Regions from separate parts of the Homo sapiens genome. Here region 1 is linked to region 2. The links are contacts of gene promoters, found by promoter capture Hi-C in blood cells and fetal thymus (Javierre and others, 2016). All regions are on one chromosome and are shown on one strand. Each heading gives the region's core, a stretch centred on a gene start or on the middle of the fragment in contact. The rest is flanking DNA. Distances are from core to core; before and after follow the strand shown. Region 1 overlaps MDN1 (midasin AAA ATPase 1). Region 2 holds the start of SRSF12 (serine and arginine rich splicing factor 12).

Region 1 (5,189 bases), core at 1,099-3,598, 530 kb after region 2:
TGTAGACCATATAAGACGAAGCAAGGGAATAAAATGAACAGCCATTTTTAATAACTCACAACTACCCAAAGTAGGACAAATTAGTGTAGGCTTTCTCTGTACTATTAAAGCTAAACAGACCTCTAAAGCTGATGAATTCTGGGCACAAACCTAAGGGACCTCTGATGAGATCTATCCCTTAGAATGCTTGAGTCAGAGACAAGGCATAATAAGGGATACTAAGTAAGCTTCTGTCAGTATAGAAGAATTTCTCAATAGTGCTTCAAGAAATGTTAAGTTCTGCTCAACTTCAAATTGTAGAGCAACATACTGTACATGAGAATTAAAACACTAGTTTATGGCTATAAACTTTAAAAATGATAGTACTGAGAAGGGCATTAGAAGAAAGTGGCCAAATCAGAAATCTGGAACTGTGTCTTCCAAATTTCAGTCGTTACATATAATCATCTTTAGATTTCTGTTAATTCCTTGTACCTAATTTCTATATTTTTTTGCCCTTGAAATTTGACTTGTTTAAACAAAAACAAATAGAAAGGAAACACTCAACACTGAATAAAATGTTTTAAAATTTTTGCTACATAGTGTTTCCAGCTAAAGATTATATAGTACATGAGTTGAGGGTGGGCTGTTTTAGCAAATGTTGACAGGTGTGAATAACTTGCTTCCATCAAAATCTGAAGCTTCTGCATGATACACTGAGAACAGTGAGAGATTTTTGGAAAAGAACTAAATAATTGGCATGTTTCAAGCCCCCAAAGTAAATGTGGTTGGATTAGCTGGTTTTTATATTATGTCCTTCTCTACTTTCCTCTGTTATTAAAATATTAGAGAATACAGTACTTGCAGGGGGCTGGTTTCAGGACACACACCCCCTCACCCCCAGTATACCAGAATACACACATATTCAAGTCCAGAGATGGCCCTGGAGAACCCGCATACATGAAAAGTTGGCCCTCCATATACTCGGGTTTTGCATCCCTCAAATGCTGAATTTTCAATCCACTTTTGGTTGGAAAAACTCCATGTGTAAGTAGACCTGATCTGTACAGACAAACCTGTGGTATTCAAGGGTTAATTGTAGCCTTTATATTTAATTCCACACACACCTTGCTCCTTTCTCTTATAAATCTGAACTCAAGTAAGTATATACTAGTTAGTGTCTAGATCCCCCATTGATTATAAGCCTCATGAGTACAGGTTCAACAAAAATTTCTGAATGAATGAATAAATAAGTAAAAATCAGCTCCATCAATTTATGTCTTTTCCTGTGGAGCATACCTATTAAAACACAGTGACGGGGACACTGAGCTGAAGCAAGCAGCTTGGGAATATAGAGTACAAGAAAGCATTTTGTTAATGAAGAGGAAGGCATGCAGCTCACCTGAACTGATGTTCTGCGAGAGCTGCTGAGCAGCTGCAAACATGTTGGCAACAGACTCTAGAAACTAAACCGGAACCAGGAATAGACAATTAGAAAACTATGTGAATGCTCTTCTCATTGTCAAAGAGACTGATAGTATTTCTGACATTGAAGTGATTATCAGATAACCACCTCAGGTTTACAGACCATCAACTAACTGTCCCTTCTGGCCGTATGTAGTTAAAAAAGGAGGATCCTTGGATACAGACATTCTGTTTTTTAATTATTATTTTTTGAGAGAGGGTCTCACTGTGTCACCCAGGCTGGAGTGTAGTGGCACGATCTCATCTCACTGCAGCCTCGATTCCTGGGCTCTGCCTCAGCCTGCCGCCAAGTAACTAGCACTACAGGTATGTGCCACCACACCTGGATAATTATTTTTGTCTTTTGTAGAAATGAGGTCTCACTATGTTGACAAGGCTGGTTTTGAACACCTGGCCTCAAGCGGTCCTCACACCTCAACCTCCCAAAGTGCTGGGATTACAAGTGTGAGCCACCATGCCTAGATGATACAGGCATTCTCAAGCACAGGTGAGACGTTTCTCTAACATATAACCCACTAGAGTTCTGGAAGATACCCCAAAGGAAAAGAAGTGCTTCCCTGGGGCATAAGAAATCAATACTCCCTCAAATAAACCAAACAGCTGTCTTCTTTCAAGAACAGAAAACAACTGAGCAAAAGAGAAGGCAAGAAAATACAAAATGTCCAGGGCAGCCTAGAAAAAGCAAACTGAATCAGAGCAGGACCCAGGAGAAATATGATCCCATGCTGTTTTGAACTTTTGTTCTCTTAAGTAAGTCACTGGCTTTACTTCATATCATTTCTTCTCTAAGCTTAATGAGGGAGAAAAATAGGTCTTGGCCCAGCTGATAAGGGTATGGGAGATGGGTTTGTTTTTGCAGAATGTTCCAAACTACTCGGAAAAAAAAGTAGGGAGCTAGAAAACCAATGATGCAAAGTCAAGTGATCCTTGAGGAACTGAGAAAAAGAAGTCACACCTTGTTTTATAATGGATGCTAAGGAAGCTTCTATTCCAGTGGTACACAGGCTGAGGTTTGGGACTATCCCTGTCCTAATACTGTATGCGGTGGAGGGTGGTTCTCAGCCCAGCATGGTGGTAATCCCAACACTTCGGGAGGCCAAGAAGGGAGGATCACTTGAACCCAGGAATTTTAGACCAGCCTGGGCAACAAAGTGAGACCCTGTCCCTACAAAAAATAAAAATTAGCCAGACATGGTAGCATGCGCCTGTAGTCCTAGCTACTAGGGAGGCTGAGGCAGGAGGACTGCTTGAGCCCGGGAGTTCGAAGCTATAGTGAGCTATGATGGCGCCATTGTACTCTAGCCTGGGTGACAGAACAAGGTCCTGTCTCAAAAATAAAAATGTTCTCCCTCCAACCTACACCAGTTTAAAAATAACTGTGCAGAAGACATTTTATTTCATCCTCTTACCTGAGCAATCTTGGTTTTCTTTTGTTGGAATTTGCAGAGACGTAGAATCTGGGACCCAGAGTAATCACTGAACTGCTCATGAAATGGGTGTAACAGCTTTACAGATTCTCCAAAACTTGGGGGAGGAAAACCAAATACAACAGGAGTTATTTTTTGGCTGTGTGATCAAAATAACCAAACAGGTTGTGAAAAGTTTTCATAAAGGAATTACAAAGCAACCTTACCTACACACTGCAATCTGACCCACTTCCAGGAGGGTTAGAGCATTTCCAATCACAGCCAAAGATTCAAATGCAAGCTGTGAATTAGAAAGTTAATGATTTTAGGAATCAGAATATCCTCTAAACCAGAGCCTCTCAACTATTTTTTGCATCAAGATTCCCAAAGAAAACATTTTTTTGTTTGGCAAGTAGAGGAATAACATCAGTAAGGCTACTATAGTCACAACAAACCCAAAGGCTTTGGTGGCCTGGTACCACAAATGTTGAAACCTAGAATCCATTACACTGATAGGAATGGTCTGCTGTAGACATCGAATAAAAAGTGACCTTGAGGGCCAGGCGTGGTAGCTCACACCTGTAATCCCAGCACTTTGGGAGGCCAAGGAGGGAGGATCACTTGAGTCCAGGAATTCAAGAGTAGCCCAGGCAACACAGCAAGACCCCACATCTGTGGTCCCAGCTACTTGGGAGGCTGAGGTAGGAGGATCACCTGAGCCCAGGAAAGTTGAGGCTACAGTGAGCCACCTGGGCAACAGAGTGAAACCCTGTAACCCTGTCTTCAAAAAAAAAAAAAAAAACAATTTAGCCGGGCATGGTGACACACACCTATGGTCCCAGCTACTCAGGAGGCTGAAGTGGGAGGACTGTACTGCTTAAGCCCAGAAGGTTGAGGCCACAGTGAGCTATGATCATGCCACTGCACTCCAGCCTAAGCAACAGAGCAAGACCCTGTCTTTAAAAAAAAAAAAAAAAAGAAAGAAAGTGACCTTGAGAAATATGGTCCATGAATTTTTCTTTCTTCTTTTTTGGACCTACATGAAGAGTAACCTCTTGTAGGTAAAAAATTTTAAAAACCAATTTAAAATCCATTCATATATATGTAGTCAGATCAGACTGTAGAACTATATCAGAAAATTTCATTACCATTTGCAATATGACAAAAGCAGCAGCAAACTGAGTGTTCTACATCTATTATTTCATTTAATCTTCATAACAATTCTGCAAGTATGAGGTTATTACTATTCTATGTGTGCTTGTAAATATATATATTCCTCACTTTTCAGAAGGTGAAACTGATAACTAAGAAATAAGTTGCCCAAAGTCATGTGTTAATAAATGGAGCTGGGATATGAACCCAGGTTCAGAGGCTACACTAACTTTTTCCAGCAGAACATACAAATTTTAGGTTGCTTATTAGCCCATGCTGTATAACAGCATCACTGCCCAAAACAAACACTCTTTGGCATCTGTAATGGTGGTATAAGTAATTCTATTAAGGCTCCTAAACTTAATATTAGCACTGATAGAACAATAACTCTGGATAATTTCAGATATAAAAGAAATGTATCCTAGATACCTACCTAAACTATCTAAGACTATGCAGTAATATCTGAAAACTTTGATTTTTTTTTTAAGAGTACACTGTTGCATTTTCTGCAAAACAAGCACTATCAGATTTACTTATTCTGCAACTAGACAGTTAAGAACAAACAGCAAGGTCAAGAAACAAAACAATGTAAAAGACCTACAACAGTAAGAAACTAACACATCTGAGACATCCTAAAATTGCCCTTTTGAACTCTTTAAATCTTAGGTCTTATCAAAGATGGTTATCACATTCTCAAAACAGGCCTAACAGGTATTTCAAAATGTTTTAGCCATATCATATTTAAAGCATTAGCCATATCATATTTAAAGCATTTTGGTGGCCCATGGAACATAGCTTGATGTTAATTTCCTATCAAACTGCCACTGCATTTCTCTTCCTTACCTGCTTGGTATGATTGTCTACCATACTAGAAGAGTCATCGATAGCCAAACAAATCTGATACTGGCGTTTACTGGGCTTGGTCCTTCGAAGCCAAATCTTGTCTTTCCGAAATTGACTAGCAATGTATGGAATGACTTTCCGTATGTTTAGTCGTTTCCCAGTTCGATAGTCTCCTCTATTTATTCAAATGGGGGCAAAAATTAGTTAACAACTTTTAATTCCTGAGAATTTTTATTAAGGACAAAAATCACAATAATACCTTAAAACCAATAGCAAGTAACTAGGAACCTGGCACAATGAAGTGTTTCTGTCAATTGACGACTA
Region 2 (5,733 bases), core at 2,002-4,501:
AGAGTCTCGCCCTGTCGCCCAGGCTGGAGTGCAATGGTACTATCTCGGCTCACTGCAACCTCCACCTCCCGGGTTCAAGCGATTCTCCTGTCTCCGCCTCCCGAGTAGCTGGGATCACAGGCACGCACCACCATGCCTGGTGAATTTTTTGTATCTTTAGTAGAGACGGTGTTTTACCATGTTGGCCAGGCTGGTCTCAAACTCCTAATTTCGTGATCTGCCCACCTCGGCCTCCCAAAGTGCTGGGATTATAGGCGTGAGCCACCACGCCCGGCCACAGCTTTTATTTTTTTAGACTCTCTAAAGGTCTCTCTGTCACCCAGGCTGGAGTACAGTGATGTGATCATCGTTCACTGTAACCTTGACCTCCCGGGCTCAAGTGACCTCCCGGGCTCCCACCTCAGCTTTCCCAGTAATTGGGACTACAGGTGTCATACACCAGGCTACATTTTATAGCTTTCTTTTATTTATTTATTTTTTGAGACAGAGTCTCACTCTGTCGCCCAGGCTGGAGTGCAGTGGCCTGATCTCGGCTCACTGCCAACCTCCACCTCTGGGGTTCAAGCGATTCTCGTGCCTCAGTCTCCTGAGTAGCTGGGATTACAGGCGCCAGCCACCACACCTGGCTAATTTTTGTGTTTTAGTACAGACGGGGTTTCACCAGGTAGGCCAGGTTGGTCTCGAACCCCTCACCTCAAGTGATCCGCCGAACTCGGTCTCCTAAAGTGCTGGGATTACAGGCGTGAGCCACCGCGCCCAGCCTTATATTTTACAGCTTTCAAATCTACAAATGGGGTTTTCTTTTTTCTTTCTTTTTTTTTTTTTTTTTTTTTTGAGACGGAGTCCTCGCTCTGTCTCCCAGGCTGGAGTGCAGTGGCGCGATGTTGGCTCACTGCAAGCTCCGCCTCCCGGGTTCACACCATTATCCTGCCTCAGCCTCCTGAGCAGCTGGGACTACAGGCACCCGCCACCACGCCCGTCTAATTTTTTTATTTTTAGTAGAGACGGGGTTTCATCGTGCTAGCCAGGATGGTTTCCATCTCCTGACCTCGTGATCCGCCTGCCTCAGCCTCCCAAAGTGCTGTGATTACAGGCATGAGCCACCGCACCCGGCCACGAATGGGATTTTCATATGATTCAACTTAATGCATCTAAAGACTAAGATTACACATACAAAATCCAGATTTCTGATTTCTCTTTACAACTAGTAAGATATATCAACAATAAGTCCAGATGTCTACATGGCAGCTGTCAGCTGGAGCCTAGAGGCAGATGCTGCACCTTTTAGATGGCATATTTCCTTTTCTATTTGCTATTCTATTTCTATTTGATAGTCCACACCATCCTACTGTGCCTTATAGGCTGGCAGCTTCACTCGTTTATATTACCCCGGCTGGCCCCTGTGAACCATTAGAATTGGAAACCTCTGATTTTTCTACAGACACCCTGAAGAGGCTTGATGCTTATTCCATTTTCAAGTTGTCTGTTCAACTGCAAGGTTTTTTAATTCTGCCCAAATCATAAATTATGTTCGTGTTTTCTATGTAATATATTGATAAAAAGGCTGACAGAAGAAATGTAAACAAGGCACCTTTTAGATGTTAACTAAGATATATTAACCACAACATATAGTTGTGATACATGTACTTGCGGTGATCAAATAAAAAATACTTGGCCGGGCACGGTGGCTCATGCCTGTAATCTCAGCGCTTTGGGAGGCCGAGCTGGGCGGATCACTTGAGGTCAGGAGTTGGAGATCAGCCTGGCCAACATAATGAAACCTCATCTCTACTAAAAATATAAAAATTAGCCGGGTGTGGTGGCACACGCCTGTAATCCCATCTACTTTGGATGCTGAGGCAGGAGAATCGCTTGAACCCGGGAGGCAGAGGTTGCAGCCAACCAAGATCGGGCCATTGTACTCCAGCCTGGGGGACAAGAGCGAGACTTTGTCTAAAAAAAAAAAAAAAACTAAAAAATAAAAAATACTTAACGTTTATTTACTCCTCAAAGGTAAATTATAATACTCATCTCAGATGACTATGGAGTCAAGAGCTCCATGTATCTATACCTCTCTGGCCCCAGGTAAATCATTAAAACTCTTAGTTTCCGCTCTCCCTTATGTACAATAAAACAGTACTGCATAGGTAGAAAGGCTGGGGGGAAGTAAATGAAGCCCAGTGAAATGAGAATGTCTATTAACACCGTTCCCTCTCCCCCCGCCCCCAATTTCTTCAGCTCCATTAAGGAAGGAAGTGCTATATGAAAAAGTCATTCCTTAGTATCTGTGTTCAGACACTCTGTAGACAAAATTCTCAACGGAGGGGTGGGGCATCAGAATCAACCAGGTGAGCCTATACTCACGCCCTTAAAAAGGGTGTTAATACTGGACTCAGAACTTTAAAGAAAAACGCACTGATCTCATTCATTGAAGTTATTTTTTGTATGCAGAATAAAATTGTGTGAATAAAATGCAAGCAGCACCGTCTGTAAGTAGACCAGAACTGGGGGAAAGAAACTGTAAGGCCCGAGTACGCATTATGGTACAAAACGTTCTCACCAGCCCCAATTCCTCTCCATCTAGGAGGGTTGGATGCGCGCGATTTTATCGGGGCACGGCGACAAAGGAGCTGAAACGCGGGCACTCGCTGGAGCGCAAACCCTCCCGACTCCCGGCGGGGAGCGACCTGAGCTCGGGAGAGGGGCGCCCCGTGTCCCACGGCCCGCCGGCTGCGGTGCTGAACCGCGGAAAGCGACGCGGGCCCGGGACACGATGTGCGCGGCGCCGGGGCTGAAAGCTGGCCGGGAGGGCGGAGGCGCGAGTTCCGCCCTGGGCCGCGGAGTAGTCCGAGGGCTCACACCTCCCCAAGTGGCGCAGCCTGGGCCCGCGGGGAGGCTCCGCGCAGCTCCCCCGAGCCTCCGCCGGGCCTCGGCCGTGCTCCGCGGCGCGGCTGTTACCCCGCCCCTCCTCCGCGCCCCCAACCTGCAGCCGCGGCCGTTCACCTGGTGGCGTCCGCGACGTTCCTGATGAACAGGGAGGTGTTGGGGGGCCTCGTGTAGCGAGACATGACCGCTTCCTCCGTTCCCTCCGGGTCTGCCCGCGGCCGCTGGACTCGCTCCGTCTCCCGCTACCGCTGCTACCACCACAGGAGCTCCGCCGGCCCCCGGCGCGACCCCCACCCCTCGGCCTCAGCCCCGCCAGCGCGCAGCCGCAGAGGCCGGCGCAGAGGGGGCGCAGCGCGGCGCCAGCCTGGACGCACGGGCCGGGGGCGGGGGCGGCGCCGGCGCGGCCCAGGGGCCGCGGGAATTCCGAAGACAGGAGCGCGGCCGTTCCCAGGCCCTATGGGATCCGGGTATGGGGGGTCCTGGAGTGCGACGGGATTTGGGGAGGGGGCGGCGAGGGCCAGTGTATGTCAGGAGGGCGGAGGCCAAGAGGGGGCTTGAGGCCGCGGCGGGGACGCCGGGGGTTAGAGGACCCAGAGGTGGTGGCGGGGCTGCGGCTGGGCGGAGGTGGGGTCAGTGAGAGCCGCTTTCAACCGCGCCCCCGCTCAGCCTCCGCGGCCCTCAGCGCATCGTCCTGAGCGCAGGACCTTGGCAGTTGGTAGGCCTCCTGCCCCTCTGGTCTTGAGCCTTCGGCTTTCCAACTGTGAGGTCTCGGTTTTGTTCGGATTTGTTTTTTTAATAGAGACGGGGTCTCGCTGTGTTGCCCAGGTGGTCTCAAACTCCTGGGCTCAAGCCTCTCCCGCCTCGGCCTTCCAAAGTGCTGGGATTACAGGTGTGAGCCACCGCGCCTGGCCTGTTGGATTTTTAAGTATTATATGATTCTTCATCCTTTATTCACTTGGGGCATAACACTCAGCTGTGAGTACATTCATTCAGATGTTTATTGAGCGTCTACTATGCGCCAGGCACTTAGCGTGGGATATAGCAATGAACAAACAGGCCAAGCCCCGCCCTCTGAGCTTACATTCTAGAGGGGGGACAAACGAATGTACAAATGAATACATGATGTAGAAGACAACAGTTTAAATGCAGGGACAGTTAAGCAAAATTTAAATTACCCTCTCCCTATTCCCCCAAAATGTTGTAGCCCATCCCCTTCTAGTTAGACTCGTCTTCGCCTTGCTCCTGTGGCCGGCAGGCACAGCCTGTTATTCAGGGCTGGGAGTGTAACCAGGCAACTCCTAAGTGTGAAGAGTGCCCCTTTTCGCTCGCAGAAGTGGTAGGCTTTGAAGAATACATGTCGTGGTCACCCTTCTAGCTCACAGCCCTCCCAGAGGCTGTGGAGGTTCCTGGGTCTGCAGCTGTACTGGAACGGTGGCTATTCTTTCATTCAGAAGGGATTGCTCTGGCACTGCAGGCACAGGGCTAGACTGGCACCGTGCCTATTCCCCTAGAGCTTAGAATTTGGTAGGGAGGCAGAATCTAACAATCACACTGGTAAAGATACAAACTATAATACAGGGCTATGAAAAGAACTATATGCTGCTGAGAGCAGGCATTGTGGGATGGTGAGCAAGGCTAGAGGGTCACTTATGTTCCCTGAACAAGTCTTGAAGAGATGGGTAAAGAATGGAGAAGAGTAATTAGTGCAGTGGAACAGCACGTGCAAAGGCTTTGAGGCAATATAGTAAATGAGGCAAAACAGGAGCATGAGGCTGGAGAAGAGTTGGAAAATGAGGCTGGAGAGCAGGCTGGATTCATAATACAAAAGCTTAGAATGCTTACCATGTGTTAGTTGGCTAGGGCTGCCATGACAAAGCACCACAGATTTGGTGGCCCGAAACAACAGAAATTTATTCTCTTGTAGTTCAGAGGCCAGAAGTCTGAAATCCAGGTGTCCGCAGGGCCATCATCTATCTGAAGGCACTCTAGGGGAATCCTCTGTTTCTTCCAGTCTTTGGTGGCCCCACACATGTTTTGGCTGTGGATACATAGATCCAGTCTCCACTTCTGTCTTCACATGGCCTCCTGTCTTTCTCTCTCTCTTTCTCTGTCTCTCTCTCTTTTTATTTTAGATGGAGTCTATGTTGCCTAGGCTGATTTCAAACTCTTAGGCTCAAGTGATCCTCCTGCCTTGGCCTCCCAAAGTTGAGATTACAGGTGTGAGCCACTGTATTAGTCCGTTTTCACACTGCTGATAAAGACATACCCAAGACTGGGGAGGCCTCACAATCATGGTGTAGGGCAAAAGGCACATCTTACATGGTGGCAGACAGAGAATGAGAGCCAAGCGAAAGGGGTTTCCCCTTATAAAACCATCAGATCTCGTGAGACTTATTCACTACCAGGAGAACAGTATGGGGAACTGCCCCCATGATTCAGTTATCTCCCTCTAGGTCCCTCCCACAATACGTGGGAATTATGGGAGCTAACAATTCAAGATGAAATTTGGGTGGGGACAGAGCCAAATGATATCAGCCATCTATCCTATCCAGTTCTATCTCTTATAAGGACATTTGTCGTTGGATTTAGGGCCCACTTGGTTAATTCAGAATGATCTCATCTTGAAATCCTCACTTACATCTGCAAAGATTCTTTTTCCAGATAAGGATACATACCTGGAGATAGGACTTGGACATGTATTTTTGGGGGCCGCCATTCAAACCACTACATTGACTTTGCAAATAAAAAACTTGACCAAAGAAAAGAAACTTGACCTGGTGGGTAGTCACAATTACTCATCCCTGACATACTGTTAAGTGGAGAAAAATCAATTCATGAGACATGTAA

What was found. The method cuts DNA at HindIII sites, captures the fragments that hold promoters and counts their contacts. A CHiCAGO score of 5 or more calls a contact.
Region 1: a fragment that was not itself captured here is called in contact with the fragment with the promoter of SRSF12 in region 2 in 2 of 17 cell types (total B cells and naive CD8 T cells); the score reaches 5.9 in total B cells.

The regions. Positions count from the first base shown.
Region 1 is chr6:89,645,159-89,650,347 of GRCh38, forward strand. MDN1 (midasin AAA ATPase 1) reads right to left here. Exons shown (of 102, transcript NM_014611.3): 97 at 4,866-5,040; 98 at 3,098-3,171; 99 at 2,874-2,988; 100 at 1,382-1,445. All of the region lies in intron 1 of MDN1-AS1 (MDN1 antisense RNA 1), which reads left to right. Among named protein-coding and RNA genes, the nearest start is that of LYRM2, 9.0 kb to the left of the region's middle. The HindIII fragment of the contact is 192 bases long and covers 2,253-2,444 here.
Region 2 is chr6:89,114,820-89,120,552 of GRCh38, forward strand. SRSF12 (serine and arginine rich splicing factor 12) reads right to left here and starts at 3,252. Exons shown (of 5, transcript NM_080743.5): 1 at 3,004-3,252. The coding sequence starts at 3,068. It also overlaps a transcript of PM20D2 not described here. RefSeq lists a silencer at 2,836-3,105. The HindIII fragment of the contact is 10,924 bases long and covers 1-4,712 here.